Regions from separate parts of the Homo sapiens genome. Here region 2 is linked to region 1. The links are contacts of gene promoters, found by promoter capture Hi-C in human tissues and cell types (Jung and others, 2019). All regions are on one chromosome and are shown on one strand. Each heading gives the region's core, a stretch centred on a gene start or on the middle of the fragment in contact. The rest is flanking DNA. Distances are from core to core; before and after follow the strand shown.

Evidence for each region. The method cuts DNA at HindIII sites, captures the fragments that hold promoters and counts their contacts. A contact is called where the count stands out against the background at its distance.
Region 2: a fragment that was not itself captured here is called in contact with the fragment with the promoter of UNC5A in region 1 in 2 of the 25 tissues and cell types used here (dorsolateral prefrontal cortex and spleen).

The regions. Positions count from the first base shown.
Region 1 is chr5:176,806,907-176,814,705 of GRCh38, forward strand. UNC5A (unc-5 netrin receptor A) reads left to right here and starts at 3,653. Exons shown (of 15, transcript NM_133369.3): 1 at 3,653-3,914. The coding sequence starts at 3,845. The HindIII fragment of the contact is 11,668 bases long and covers 1-7,799 here.
Region 2 is chr5:176,730,590-176,738,388 of GRCh38, forward strand. No RefSeq gene overlaps it. Among named protein-coding and RNA genes, the nearest start is that of LINC01574, 8.7 kb to the right of the region's middle. RefSeq lists enhancers at 1,770-2,700, 2,701-3,630. The HindIII fragment of the contact is 7,840 bases long and covers 1-7,003 here.

The DNA.
Region 1 (7,799 bases), core at 2,403-4,902:
TTAGCAGTGCGATATCACTGACCAACAGCTGATTAGGACTCCTCTTGTGTATCAGGCCATGATGGCAGAACACCTGCCAACCCCTTCAGGAGATGCCTTCAGGAAGCAGCCTCACCACGGAACACCTACAGGGTGTCTGGGTGGCGAGACAGGGGCCCAGAGCCCTGCTGCCATGCCAGCATCTGAAGCAGAACTGTTTGCCCTGAAAATTCATGATAGACCAAGACTTCATCTTCTGAAGAAAAATTTGCCTGAGTAACAGAAGCAAAGGAGGCTGGAGCTCTCAGGAGTCCTCTTCCCATCTGGCCATCCTACCTTAGGGTCTGAGACAAACCCTTTCCTGGCAGCCCTTCACCCTGGATTCTTAAGAAGAGTTCCAGTGAGACACCTACTCCCCCTCTCTACAAGGGCACCCCTCCTCCTTCTCCTGACATGACTCTGAGCATCACTTGGAAGGGAACAGTTCAGCTGAGGCCCGGGTGACTAAAAGGAACCAGCCACGTGAAGATCTGGGGACAGAGTATTCTAGGAAGAAAGGCAAATGGGAAGGCCTGGAGGTGGGATGAGCTTGGATGCTGGAGAAACAAAGTGAGGGGTTGAGGGGCCTTATGGCTAGGGCCTAGGCAGAGTTGAAGAGGAAGGCAGGGGCCAGATTCTGCTGGGACCACAGGCTGTGCAGGCACTCATGCTACTCTCCACATATTTCAGCTCTGCCTTCCAGGCACGAGGTGGGATTATACTTCCTGGCCCTCTTGGGTGGGACTGTGGGGCCAGTTCTGGCCAATGGATTGTGACCAGACATGATCCATTGTGTCTGGGCTGAGCGATTGATGGCTGGTGGGTGCACCTCTGGAATGGCTGCTGTCAGGCTGGGTCCTCAAGTGAGGGTGACCTGGAGTCATAGACCCATGATGGACAAATGAGAAACAAACCTTTGTTGATTTAAGTCACTGAGATTTGGGGACTATTTGTTACGACATCCCCTAATCTATCCTGACTCTTACATAGACCATTCCATTCTGGCTGAAGAGAGAGGGGCAAGAAGAGAAGTGAACAAAGCAGCCAACTGAGCAGAAAAGACCCTTCCTTTCCTGTATCTCAAACCTCATTTCCCAAATTCAAATCCCAGAGTAGAAACTGTAGCAGGAGAAAAGATGAGGACACGGACGTTGAAACCAAACCTCCCAAGGATGCATCTTAGCTAACCCTGCAGTCTATTGGATAAGGTTGGCCCTGAGCAATCAGGCACTTCCTCTCCCTACGCCTCAGCTACTGCATCTGCATAATGGGAATAATAATGTTTCTTTAACAGGACTGCATGTGAGGATCAAGCCAAATTATAAATGTATGCAAGGACATAGTGGTGTCCAGCATACTTTTTTTTTTTTTTTTTTTGAGACGGAGTCTTGCTTTGTCGCCCAGGCTGGAGTGCAGTGGCATGATCTTGGCTCACTGCAACGTCCGCCTCCCAGGTTAAAGCAATTCTCCCTGGCTCAGCCTCCTGAGTATCTGGGATTACAGGTGCCCACCACCACATCTGGCTGTGTGTGTGTGTGTGTGTGTGTGTGTGTGTGTGTGTGTGTGTATTTTTAGTAGAGATGGTGTTTCGCCATGTTGGCCAGGCTGGTCTCAAACCCCTGACCTCAAGCGATCCACCCACCTCAGCCTCCCAAAGTGCTGGGATTACGGTGTGACCCACCACACCCGGCCATCCCTTTAGACAGAGCATACACTATTATAATGTCATCTTATACCCCAGCCCTCAATCCTCTTCCTTCATCCTCAGCCACCAGCCTCCAGTGCCCAATCCCCAGTGGGCCCCAAGGGCAGATCCTGCCACTGACTCTCCTCTCCCACCCACCTCTTTCCTGCAGAGGCTGAAGAGGGGTGTTATGGTGCCAACAGGAGCAGCCTGGGCACACACTGCTCCTACACACACACACACACACACACACACACACACACACGAGACATGTGAGTTGATCAGGCCCTGACACCGTGTACATTCAAACTGCCCCGAAAGCAAAGTTCCCAAACCAGAAGGTGGTGAACACTTTCCCCTGGGCTCACATGAAGTCTAAAAAATTATTTTTTACTAGTTAAAAATTTTAAATCAGAATATTTCACATACGACGGCTTCTGTTGAAAATTTGGAAGATGCGGCTATACTGTGCCCCGGTCCCCTCCCCCGACAACCAGCACCTGGAGCAGAAAAGGCAGCTGCCCCTTGAGATGGGATCCTTGTGCCTGTCCCCAGCACTGCCCTTTGCCTCCCTGGCGATGGAGCCCAGCGTCTGTATGGTTGCCTCTGGAGCTTTAGCTGGTGTTTTTTATAGTAGACTTAAGAGGAAAGCAAAACATTTTTCATAACCCTTCTCTATCAAAAGTGGGAAACAAAAGACAGACCGAGAGAGGGCCTCGTGTCTCAAGAAATATAGGAGAGCTCATATCTCTTTGTGGAAGCAAGACCATCCCTTACATCGCCTAGCCTGCAGCGCCAATTTATATTATCGACCGGCCCCGTAGGCGTTTGAGTTTGCGACCCTGCCCTCACCCTGCTCATTCCCCTCCCGACCCAGACTAGGACCCTCTCTTTTTCCGATCACTCCCCCCAGGCACACCGCACGCGGCTGTCATTTCCTTTCTCCTTCAAGGCAGCCCTCTGTTTATTTTAACCCGATTAGGGAATGGGGGTGGGGCACAGGAGACTCCAGCAGCGGTCACTGCTGGAGGCTCCAGGAGACGACGTGACTTGACCAAGGTCACAGAGCTGGAAGGTGAAGTCGCCTGGACCCTACCCCCGGTCTCCCTAGCTGCCAAAGCCCAGCTCGTTCCTTTACACCCACGTCGCGGGCGCCGTGCGCTCTCGGGGCTCAAACACCGCGCGCCCAGTCGGGTGTGCTGCGCCTGAAGGTTGTTTTCCTTCGGCGAACGGCGCCGAGGGGTTAGGGAAACCTTGGGTCATGGTGTGAGGCGCGCCCCTGGAATCCACCAGCCTGCGAGGCTGGGACTGCGGGTGTCCCCGAGTCTGGCCTGCCAGCTCTGGTGGCCAGGGCACCTCTGCGCGCGGGCCAGGGCCCCGGGGCTCTCCCGCAGTCCCCTAACCAAGCCGCGGGCTGGCAGCGTACCGCGGCGCCCGGACGACCCCGGAGCGCGGCCGCGAGGAAAGGGCGGGGGAGAGGACTGCAGCGGAACCTGCCCGGGGCACCCCTGCCCTGGGCGGCTCTCCGCAGGCTGGCGCCGCGCCGGGGTCGCCGCAGCCCCGGGCCCCTCCCGGGCCACCTGTGCGCAGACTGGCGGGCCCGCGAGAGCCCGGATCCGGAGCACCGATCCACTCCGGGTTTCAGACTCCTGCCCCTGTCCCTGGAGACCCCGCGGGGCGGTGGGAGGCCTCCACGCCCACCACCCCAAGCCCCTCCCTGGGGGAGCCTCAGGCATCGCCCAGAGGGATTCCCGGTGCTGGGGGTGGCCCGCGCGCGCTGCGCGGGGCGGCCCGGCCCCTCCTTCCTTCCCCCGCCCCTCCCAGCCGCCGCCCCGCTCCGTCGCTCCAGTCCGGGTTTTGCGGCGCCCACCGGCCCGCTCTCCGGCTGCGGGCTCCGCGGCGCGGCTGGCTCGGTGCGCGGCGCGGCTGGCGCTGCGCTCCGCCCCGGCTGCATTGCTGCGCTCCCGTGCCCAAGGGAGCCACGCGCCGCGTGCGCCCGGCAGCCGGCCGCCCGGAGGCAGCGCAGTCCGCTGGCATGGGCCCCGGGGGCGCCCCGAGCTGGGGCTCCGGGCTGAGGCGCTAAAGCCGCCCTCCCGCCCGCGGGGCCCCGCGCCCGGCCCGCCCGCCTGCCCGCCCGCGGCCATGGCCGTCCGGCCCGGCCTGTGGCCAGCGCTCCTGGGCATAGTCCTCGCCGCTTGGCTCCGCGGCTCGGGTGAGTCACGCCGCGCGCGCTCTGGGGAGGCTTGCGGGGGACCGTGCGCGCGAACGCTCGCTGCTCTGGGGGTCCCTGACCAGCGCTGCCAGACCCGGCTGGGAGCCCCCCGAGGCCAAACTTTGCGAGGCGGGACGCGGGGGGCTCTTCTTGCTGCTGCGCAGCTTCCCCGCGCGCTCTCCCGGAAGCCTGGGTTCTGCCAAGTCCAGGAGCAGCTGTCAGCCCGCGGGGCTGGCGAGTGTAGACACCCCACGCCTCCGGGTGGGGGAAGTTTGCTGGTTGCCTGGGCCCGGAGCAGGGCTGGGGGTTTGGATCAACCCCAGGGAGCCTGACTTTGAGGATTCGAAGATTAGAGGGTTTTGAGCCTATCCCAGTGCCCAGGAAATGGGGGGTGCGGGGAACGTTTAAGATACCTCTTCCCGGTAGCATCTGCCCTAAACAGCCACTCACAATCTCCCAGCTTGGCACCTGGCCTCTGCCCACGTCCAGAACACAGTGTCCTCCTCTGTCCCCGCCACACACGCTCTCACACGCACACACTCAGGCGTGGAGGCGCATACACCAGCCCCCAGTCCTTGCAGCCAGCACAGTCAAAGCGCCGCGGTCCCGGTGGCCGGGGCTGTGGCTCCTGGCCTCCCTGGTGCGGGGGGCCAGAGTTGTGTGTGGTTGGTCCGCCAGTTTCCCCTTCTTCCTTAAACTCCATAGCCTTTCTTGGCCCCTGCATGCCCCATTGGTCACCCTAACCCACTGCTAACTCAGCCCTCAGCCCACCTCATTCCCTTGGGAGGGGCTTGGGGGGAGGAAGTTCCCCTGCATCCTTTGTCTGCTGTCCCTGAGCCTTCACCTAGGCTGAGCTGTGGGGGCCTCCTGATCTCTGCCCCCCATGCACTTAGCTGAGTTGAGCGTATGTGTCTGTGGTGGTGGGGGGTGGGTGCCATTTGTGTGGTCAAGGGGGCTTGAGGCTTACCCTGGCAATTCTCGATTCTTGCTGCCCCTAGAACCTGGGCGGTTACTCCCCAGCCTGGCCAGGCCGCTGCTTATAACAGGGGTGTTGGAAGGGAGCACTGGGGTTTCTGAGCTGCCAAACCAGATTGATCAGAGATCAATGAGTGGGAGCTCAGGAGCCAGCCTGATGATTGAGGCCGATGGCTGTTTCCTTAAAGGGTGTCTCTGCGCAGCGCATCCTGCACCCACCACTGCCTGACCGCCCGCCCCATCCTGCCTCCTCAGTACCCCTCTCTACTCCATCCCACCCCTTCTATCTCCCTTCTCCATCAGCACCCCTCTTCTTCCCCAGGGCCTCTCCTTCTAATCCTGACCAAGCTGAGAGGCTGAACTGCTGTTGGGTGTGTGTCCGTGTCCGCCACATGTGTGTGTTAGGGGCGTGTGTGCAGCTCCGCAGATGAGCACCCGGGTGCAGGTTGCACTGTTGTCCATGATGAGGTGGGGATATTAGTGCCCCACACACAGGTGGGGTGTTGCCTGACACCCAGTAGGTACCCTGGAAATGTTTTCTGAGTTGATGCTTTTGAGGGCTGTGTGGTCATAGCTGCATGTCGCCCACGTGAGCACGTGTGAAGGCTGTGGGTTGACATGTGTGCCCGGGTAACCAGGGGGGTTGGCATGGTGTGTGCAGCATTGGCATGTGTGTGCCCTGATGAACGTGTGTGATGACCAGCATGCCGCACGTGTGTGACGGCTGTGTGCAGTTGCACAGGTGAGCGTGTACAGATAAGGGGGCACAGGTACCGGTGAAGCAGGGTGCTGCGGCCTGGAGCGGGGGGTTGCCACAGGGACTCCTCAGGAGGCTGTGGGGGTGGGGAAACTGCATCCCTGGTTGGCAGGGCATCTGTTGAGGCCTGGCCCAAGGTTGCCCAGGGAGTCGGCAGGTGGGCACAGGTGCTGCAGGGGCTGACGCAGAGCCTGCCCCAAGGCATCAACTCTGCCCCTGGGCCTGCGGGAGGAGCTGCTGAAGGCCATGGGGTGGGGAGGGGCTGGCCCTACTTCTTTGGGACTCCCTTCCCCCTGTGCCCCACAGGCACTGGGCACATGTGGACGCCCAGGCAGGCTGGCCCTGCCGTGACCCGGGCTCCTCCCGCGCTGCCTTTTGCCTCCGTTGCAACAGCCTCCGGTGAAAAATGTGTCTGTGAGCCGCTGAGGGAGGGATGGCCAGCGGGCAGCAGGGGGCGCCGGGGGCCAGCGCGACTGACTGCAGCCGCTTGCTCCCCAGGCCACGCGCCCACCCTCTGTTGCTGGACATCACACAAAAGCCTGTCCCTTCAGCATGCTCGCACCTGCAGGCCCTCTCTGTGCCCGCGCACGCAAGCACCCATCTGTCTCACAGGATTTTCCCTCTCAAACCCCGTCACGCAGCTGGCATGCAAACCCCCACCCTGCCCCTGTGGTCTCCCTGTCACCCAGACCTCTGCAGTCTTGAGCAGGAGGGACTTGGGAGCTGGCTCCCTTGAAGATGGGGCTGAGGGGTGCCATGCTCTGGCATTGCTGCATTGCCCAACCTGACCCCAACCATCTAGCCTGGCTCCTCCTTCTCAGACCCCATCCCCATACTTAGGGCTAACCTAGGACTCGTCTGTCCACCCCGACACTTGGGAGAATGCAGCTGGCTGAGGGGGTCTTAATCCTCCAGGGCTAGGAGATACCCTGTTCCTGCTCGCCCTGCCTTGCAGGTGGGGTGGCCTGGGCTTTGGGGCCCCTAGGTCCTCCCAGGGGAGAGCTGGTCCTCTTGCTGCCTGCCTGCTCCCCACTTGCCTGTGTTGGGAGGGGGGGCTTCTCTCAGGAACCAGGGATAGGCATTGATCCAGGTACCAAGCCCACACCAGAAGTCACGGCCCTCGTTCCCAGGAGCAGCCAACTTTGGCCTCAGCCAAGGGCCAGAGAGCCCCTGTCCTCACGACCCTTCTTCCTGCCTAGTGCTGCTCTGGGCCCAGACCCGCAGGCTGGAGCTCCGAGGCTTCACAAGGCAGGAGCCTGCCCTGAGCTTGGGGTGGGGCTCCCCTGCTCTAGTGCTGGGCCTAGCTGCCACTTGGGAATCTGTGTGTCCACGCATATGCATGCGGGGCCTCCTGTTCTAGGCCACCCCTCTCCCAATGCCCCCTCCTCCCAAGGGCCCTGCCGTCCCCTCCTCCTATTCTCCCAGCCTGGGGCTGGAAGCCTTAGCGTCTCCCTTGCTTCTCCCTTCTCTCTCACGCTTCACATCTAATATGTCACCAAGTCCTCCAGCTCGGGCCTACTTGTGGCATTGCTCATGTCTCTCGACTTCTTTGTCTTCCTCCACTCCTTTCTCCCTCACCTGCAGCAGCCACCACCACCCATCCCCCTCGGGCCTCCTCCACTCAGACTAAGGCATCCCCTGGCATCCAGGCTGGAAATCTGCTAGAAAGCTTTCGGTGACTCCCAGTGCCTGCAGGTCAACCCAAACCTTGAGCCCCCTTGGGCCCTTAGGAAAATACCTTCCTCCCTCGTCATCGCCCCACATCAGCTCTGGGCTGGTCTATCTGGAGGTCGGGTGCCCTCCCTGGCTCTGACTGCTGGTGGGGTGGGCACCCCCAGGCAAGCTCCGGCTTCCAGACTGTAGCTCCTTTGCCTTGCAAAGCGTGGTGCCACTGACCCCGCCAGCATGCTCCCCACCCAACACCCCAACGTTGGCTCTGTCCAGACCTGGGACACACCCCTTTGCTGCTGCCAATCCCTGCACTGTGAAACCCGCAGCTTCAGTCCAGCCCCTCCCAAAGGCCTCCCACCTCCTCCCCTGCAAAGGGGTCCTGGCATACTGATGTGCTTTGGGTGGGCTAAAGAAAGACTGAGGTATTGAGTCCTCAGCCCTGGGGCTGCCAGAAGCCTCTGACCTGAGCCTCCTCCTTCTCC
Region 2 (7,799 bases), core at 1,834-4,333, 77 kb before region 1:
GCATGCCCAGAGGTGGGCAAGGCTCATTCGGCCCCAGTGAATTGCTGCCAAGTGGGAAGATGCTATAGACTAGTGCCCACCAGTATTGAAACTGGTAAAACTAGTGGTCACAGAAGACTGTACTTCTCAGCCCTTGGGGTGTGGATGGGCCACATGACTAGTTTCAGTCAATGACAAGTGAGCAGAAGTCAGGCGATGTCACATGCTGAAGCCGTGCAATGTCCCTGTGCTCTTCTTCTGTTTCTTCTTTCCCAGAAGCAGCAACTGACAAGGTCATGTGTCTCAGATGCCACTTAAAAATGGTGGTGCCTCCATCAGCCTGGTTCCCTAAGTGACTGTGTGGAGCAGAGTGCCCTGGCTACCTGCACTGAATATGTGGTGCTCATAAGAAATAAAGACCTGCGTGGTAAGCTCCTGTGACTTGGAGGTGCTTGTTACTGCAGCATAGCTCAGCCTGTCCTGACCTACACAGAAATAGAGGTAAATGTTGTCCTGACTTGTGATTTTGAAAAGAAATCTTCTGGTGTTAAATGTTGGAGACAGGATAAAAATACAACCAATATAGCGCAGACCAAGCAGAATCCCTCTGCAGGAGAGGCGTGGCCCACGGGCCACTGGTTTGCAGCCTACCCACCATCGCAGGCTCAGCTGTAGGGCCTCAGAGGACCGTACATAGAACGTGAGCTAACTCATTTTTCTGTACTTTCCCATGCAATCTCAGATCTACTTGTGGGCGTACCGGGACAGAATGAGACTCTCTGCTCTATGATTAACTGGAAGAGATTGCCTGGTTACAAACAGAGAAAAAGAAGGCAATTCTGTGGCTCTTTTAGAAGCTGCTGAAAAGCAGTATTTGGGCATTTGAACGCCTGTGGGCCAGCAGCTATGAGACGAGGGCTGAATCCGACTTCAGGATGCAGGAAACGGGGTTAGGAACTCATGGTTCAAATTCCAGCTCTGCTATTTGGTGTGTCACCTTGGGCATGTCACCTCACCTCTCTGAGCCCATTTCCTTGTTGGGAGGTTGGGGATCATCATAGAAACCACTTCTCAGGATGTTGACAGGAGCGAGGGAGGTGTGTGGCCAGTCAGGTGGTTCCTAGTCTCCTGGGGCATCCCTGCCTGCACGGAGAAGGCTCATCCAGGGAAGGGGCCAGGATGGGCCTGAGACCCAGGTTCCCCGGGGCCAGTCAGTTACAGTCTGGCTGTATTCGTTTCCTGTGGCTGCTGTCACAAATTCCCACAAGTGTGGTGACTTTTTTTTTTTTCCATTTTTAAATATTGTGGTTAAAAAAAGCCCATGTAACATGAAATGTACCCTGCCAGCCATTTGTAAGTGTATAGTGTGCTGCTAAGTATCTTCATATTGTGCAACAGATCCCCAGAACCTTTCATCTTGCAGAGCTGAAACTCGGTATCTTGGTGACTTTTTAAACAACACAAATTTATTCTCTTACAGCTCTGGAAGCCAGAAGTCCAAAATCATTGTCACTGGGCTAAAGTCAAGGTGTTGGCAGGTTGGCTCCTGCTGGAGGTTGGAGGGAGGATCCATTTCCCGGACTTCTGTAGCTTCCGGAGCTGCCTGCATTCTTCGGCAGAATTCCACTTCCTTACATCACTCCAACCTCTTGCTTCTGTTGTCACAGCTCCCACTTCTGGTGTCAAATCTCCCCCTGCCTCCCGATTATAAGGACACTTGTGATTACATTTAGGGCCCACCCAGATAACCCAGGATAACCCTCCCTTCTCAATCGCATATGCGAAGTCCCCTTTGCCAGGAATTGGGACTTGCGTGTCTTTGGGGGCCGCTCTTCGCCTAACACCCTGGCTACGGTGGTCCGCTCTGGGCCCGAGGTGCCTTTGCTGGCAGCCAGGACAAGCAGGGTCCCAGAGGAAAATGCCAAGTGGGGGCCCATGGAGTAGCAGGACTTGGGGACAAGCCCGATTCTGTCCCCTGATCTGGCTCTCACCGTCTGGAAACATACAGGCGCCTTGCTCTGGTCCTTCCTCGTCCTCTGCAAGGCAGGCTCCTTCCTGCACCCCTCCACTTCCTCAGGTGACGGTATCCACCCCAGGACCATTCATGGAACTAACAAAGCACTGGACATACAGACAAAAACTGCTTCTTTCCTGAAGCTCCCATCCTAGTGAGGGAGAGTGAAGAAGCCGGGTACGTGATGTGGGAGGCAGTGAAGCGCGCTAAGGAGAGCAAGCGGGGACGGGGAGAGGAGGGCAGGGCAGGCCCGGGCTGTGAAGATTCAGCCCACACACATTTATCAAGCACCTACCAGGTTCCGGGGCCTGGGACACAGCTGAGAATGAGACAGACCCAGCCCCTATCCCAGAGGATCACCTGTTTTAGCGGGGGGATGAAGCCGATGAGGAAATGAATGGGGCACGTGCAGAAGGCAGTGAGGCTGGGAGGAACCACAGCGGTGCCCTGGGCTCAGGAGTGATGGAGCTGCTTCAGATGGGGCGGTCAAGGAGGACCTCTCGGAGGAGGTGATTGGGGACTGAGGGAGACGGCTCCAAGTGGAGGGGACAGCAACTGCAACGTGGGGGTGATGCAGCTCAATAGCCATGCGTGTCTGGGTGGCAGGAGCTCAGAAAAGCGTGTTGGCGGCAGTAAGGATGGAGGGGGATTGTCCTGGGATGGGGCTTCCCGTCCCACCTGCTGTGCCTGGGCTTTTAAGCCAGCAGTGAAGACACCTGAGACAGACCCAAGAGAAAGGCCTGCCCACACCTGGTGGCCACTCCAGACAGAATGAGGACAGGGCCCAGCACAGGTGGAATGGCCCAGGCCGGAGGAGCCCCTCTCAAGGAGGAGCCTGCCTTGTCCCCCACTCCTGCGCGGAGCCCTGTTCCCTCACGCGGGCTGGCTTCTTTAACGAGACCATCTGTCTGGCTTTCCTCACTCGGCTGAGCCTGCTGGTGCCATCCATCTCCCCCAGCCCCATCTCCCGTCCGTCTGTCACCGCTCGGCCCCCACCATCCCTGCCCAGCTCTGAGGGGGCCTCAGCAGGTCTGGCCTTCGTGTTTACTCTTCTCATCTGGCCACATCTGGCCCCCGTGCTGAGTCACCCTCTCCATCTGCCTGTCCTCCCTGTTGGACGGTGGCCGTCTCCTTCCTGGCTCTTTCGGAGCCACGTGGCAGCCCACGCGTGGAGCGGGTGCCAGAGCCGGCACACGCGTGGGGATGTGACTGTGAGCGGCTTGGTGCCAGCCTGCATCCCAGGAGGGGCCCCTCAAGGACAGCCCCACTGGAGGCCTCCCCCGCGGCCTTGGAGGGTCCGGTGGTCCACTGGACGAGTCTCAAAGAAACCAAAGAGACTCAGAGAGACAAAGGCCACAGCCAGGCTGAGGCAGAAACGGAGATGCCTGGTATCAAGGCTGGGTATGAACCCAGCTCTGCTGGATGCCAGAGCCTTTCAATTCTGCATCTGAGCGTGGAAGTAGGAAGAGTGTGGGCATTTCAGAAGGGTGTGGGGGCGGGAGGCAGCCTGGGAGCAAACAAGAGTCACAAGCCCGGGGTCCGAGGCCCTGCAGGGCTGGACCCAGAGCTCTGAATCTGGGTAGGTTACTTAGCCTTTCCCAGCCTGACTTCCTGCACATATTTTGAAAATTAAACCAGTTGCACTGAGGTAGTACAATACCATCACCTACCCCTCAGGCCAGCCTGGAATAGCACCCCTTCCTCTGACAACAGCATCCCAAATTTTCCTTAAGCCCCTTCTCAATCCCTGAGATTTGGGAAGGGCTGACAGGAGAAGACATGTGACCAAAGATGAGACAATCCAAGCACTGCAAACTCAGCCCCACCCCCACTTCAGTGCTTGGCTTGGGGTCAGGTGGGTGCCAAGCTGGGCTAGTCAGGGCCAGAACCTTTGCTGAACTTAGCTCCCCTCCCCTCCCCTCCCCTCCCCTCCCCTCCATTGCCCGCCACCCCACTCCCTTTTCCTTTCTTTCTTTCTTTCTTTCTTTCTTTTTTTTTTTTTTTTGAGACGGAGTCCAGCTCTGTCGCCCAGGCTGGAGTGCAGTGGCGTGTTCCCAACTCACTGCAACCTCCACCTCCCAGGTTCAAATAATTCCCCTGCCTCAGCCTCCCAAGTAGCTGGGATTACAGGCGCCCGCCTCCACGCCCAGCTAATTTTGGTATTTTTAGTGGGGATGGGCCACTGTGATGGCCAAGCTGGTCTCAAACTCCCGACCTCGTGATCCTCCCACCTCGGCCTCCCAAAGTGGTGGGATTACGAGCGTGAGCCGCCACACCCAGCCCCTTTTTTAAATTTTTTTTGAGACAGGGTCTCACTCTGTTGCACAGGCTGGAGTGCAGTGGTGCAACCACAGTTCCCTGCAGCCTCAAACTCCTGGGCTCAAGTGATCCTCCTGCCTCAGCCTCCCAAAGTGCGGGGATTACAGGCATACTCTGCCACGCCCAGCGTGCTGGAACTTTTCTAAGGAAGGGGTGCTCCTTGCTCACTGTGAGAGTGAGCAGGCTATGAGCTAGAGCTACTGGTGGCTGCCATGTGGTGAGAGCCCGCCTGTGAGGAAAACCAGCAGAGAGGAGAGCAGAGCCAAAGCACGGAGAATAAGAGCAGTCCTAACAAGCCCCTGGATCCAGCTGGGCCTGAAGCCAGCTCCACTTCTGGACTTTTCAGTAATCGATGCCAATACATTGCCTTTTATAACAGAGCCTGAGTTGGGTTCTGTCATTTGCAATCAAGGAGTTGTATGTGCTGTATTCCTGAAAGGGACAAATATGTGCCTGATACACAGTAGGCTCTCAATACATGCTGAAGATAAGGATAAGACCTTTGTGAGAACAGCCAGTCTCAAAACATATTCTATGATTTCCTGGGCATAACACTCCACACACGGCAGAATTATAGAGATGGCAAGCAGGCTGGTGGCTGCTGGGAGCTAGGGCTGGTGGAGGGTGGAGGTGGGTGTGACATCTTCACGGGGATGGAACAGGTCTAGATCTTGAGTGCTGTGGTGGCTTCATGATCTCCACATGTGACAAAATGACGTAGAGCCGTATGCATACCCTGTGCCAATGTGGGTTTCCTGGTCTGGTATTGTACTAGAGTTATGTAAGATAGAACCACTGGGAGAAACCCAGTGCAGGGTACACGGCACCTCTCTGTACTATTTTTGCAAGTTCCTGTGAATCTGTAATAATTTCAAAACAAAAAGTTACAAAGAAGAAGTTCTTTGTAGGCGTACCACCCAGCAGCTCTTGGACCCCAAAAGGCAAATCATGGGCATTGAAATCAGATGGACCAGAGCTCAAATCTCAGCATGGCTGTTCACCTGCTAAGTGGCCTTGGGTCAGTCACGTCTCTTCTCCTACCCTCAGCGTTCTCATCCGTGGAGTGGGGCTCACTGGGGCTTATGGGCCCGCCCCATGGGGTGGTGATGACAGAGGATACAGTCAAGACCGTGCTCTGTCTCGCTCAGGACCTGGCTGTGGGAGGCGATAAGCTTCAGCAGCAGGCCATCAATACAGGGCTTGGCAGGGGGCCTTGCGCGGACCTGGCAAGGTCTTGGGTTCTGAGCCAGCTTCCCTGGGCTTGAGTCCTGGCTCTGCTGCTCCCTGCCTGGGTGACCTAGGGTAGACTACTTGACCTCTCCGGCCCTCAGTGTTTCCATCTGTACAATGGAGATAATCATAGTGCTGATCATGTATGTGACTTTTGAGGATTATTTTTTGTAGAGACAGGTTCTCCCTAGGTTGCCCTATGTGGCTGATCTTGAACTCCTGGCCTCAGGCGAGCCTCCCACCTCGGCCTCCCCAAGCTCTGGGATTCCGGGTGTGAGCCACGTAGCCTGGTCTGCTTTTGAGGATTAAATGAGATAGTGCACCTGAGGCCCCTAGGGCAGAACCTGACACTTGGCAGGGACAGTAGCCCTTTGGGGTGTGGAGAATGGCCCCATGGGTGGGGGTGGGAGGACCCTGGCCATGCAGTGAGGTCTGTTGCAGCATTGCCAGGAAAGCTCTCACTTCCTGGGGATCAGCACCCCCAGGAGCTTCCCCTTCAAGGTCCCGCAGCCAGTGATGAATTCCACTCCGGCCAAGCAGAAAATCTGATCCCAGGCACCTAAGGAGGCAGAGGGACCCCTGTCCAGAGAACCCAGGCTCCCGCCTTCCTTCTCCTGTCCTCCCTGAGGAGGGAGAGCACAAACCTGAAGTGGAATATGCACGGATTGGACTTCGAGGTACAGCCTCTGAGAAGAAAGGAAAGGACTTAGTGTTTGTGGTCAGTGAAAGAAATTCTGGGGACAGTGGGGGCTCAGTGGTTGCTTGAGGGAGGCTGGAGATGTTCCTCTGTCTCCAAACGTGTATTTCATGATCTGTCATGGTTTTAGGATCCCTAGAATTCCATTATTGCTGAGCTCATCCCTAGGTTAAACACTGCCCACTCCTGCATTCTGTTCTTTTCAAACTAGAGGAGTAACATATTAAGCCATGAATGTGTGAACTAATTTATGACAGGGTCTGGGGTGAGGCATGCTCAAAGCAGACCGAGGAAGGGCAGGAGAGGCCCAGGAAGGGGTAGGGGGAGGGTTGGGAGGTAGGGAATGATGCCTAAGGCAAACTTTGCCTGCTCTGGCTGGCTCTTGGTGATAATCTATTTAAAGGCCTCCCCTGGCTGTTCTCGTTGATGTAGATCCATTTGAGCAGTTTCAGGGCTGCAGTCTTTATTTAATGCAGCTCCGAGCCTGATGCACAGGGCCCAGAGCTGAGCGGAGGCTGGCTCCTGGCAATGCTTAATAGCAAGGTGAGAACACGGAGCTCCTGAGTAGGGGAGGGGCGATGTCAGGCAGCAAGGGCTAGGCCGGCTGTGCTCCACAACCTGCTCCTTGCTGCTGCTGGGAGGATGGAGCAGGCTGGAGGTGGAAATTCCCATCCCGGAGTCAGCACTTAGGAGAAGGGAATCTCAATGTCAAATGAGCTGGTGATTTGGTGGGATGGGAGAGGCTTTGTTGAATAGTGGCTGAGGATAAGCCAGCATGGCTTCGGCAAACAAGAAATATGTTAGCTCATGGAGCCGTCCAGCTTCAGGTACGGCTGAATCCAGGACTCCCTGTGAGAACATCTAACAGTTCCTGAGACCACATGCTTCCTGTGGAACACACTGGGGGAGCATGTCTGGGGCCAGGCATTCCCTGCAAAAGTCCCAAGGTCCTTTCTGATTGGTCTGGCTTGGGTCACATGCCCCTTCCCTAAACCAAACACTGTGGCCAGGAGGATGGGATACGCTGATTGTCTTGGCCCACTCCAAAGGACCAAGTGAAGTGGGGAGGGGGGTCAGTTCCATCCAAGCCTCACAGAGGACAGGAGGCCCCGGAGCAGGACCGGCCTAGGAAGCAAGCAGATGCTGGCTCACGGCAACGCCGAGCCTGTGTCCACACACCTCGTCCAATGTACCCCTCTCAGCTGCCTCTGCAGATACTTCTTCAGATGAGAGCACTGAGGTAGAGGGACTTGCCCAGCACCCAGAGGGGGAGTCCAGCTAAAACAGAATCCAGATAAAAGACTCTATTTTATTCTAAGTTCTTTCCAGCGCCTCCTGGTCCAGCTGGCGCCGATCCCCTGTCCCACGTTCCCTGCCCCTGATATTCCAGAGTACTTGGACTCCTAGGTTTGGGACCTGAAAAGGATCTTAGAGTTTGTTGTCTCCAGTCTCTTCGAGTAATGCACCCAGGGCCACACAGCCCACGAATAGCAGAACGGGGACTAGAATCCACATCTAATAGGACAGCTTGTCACTTACCTTGTGTCTGCCTCACTGCTT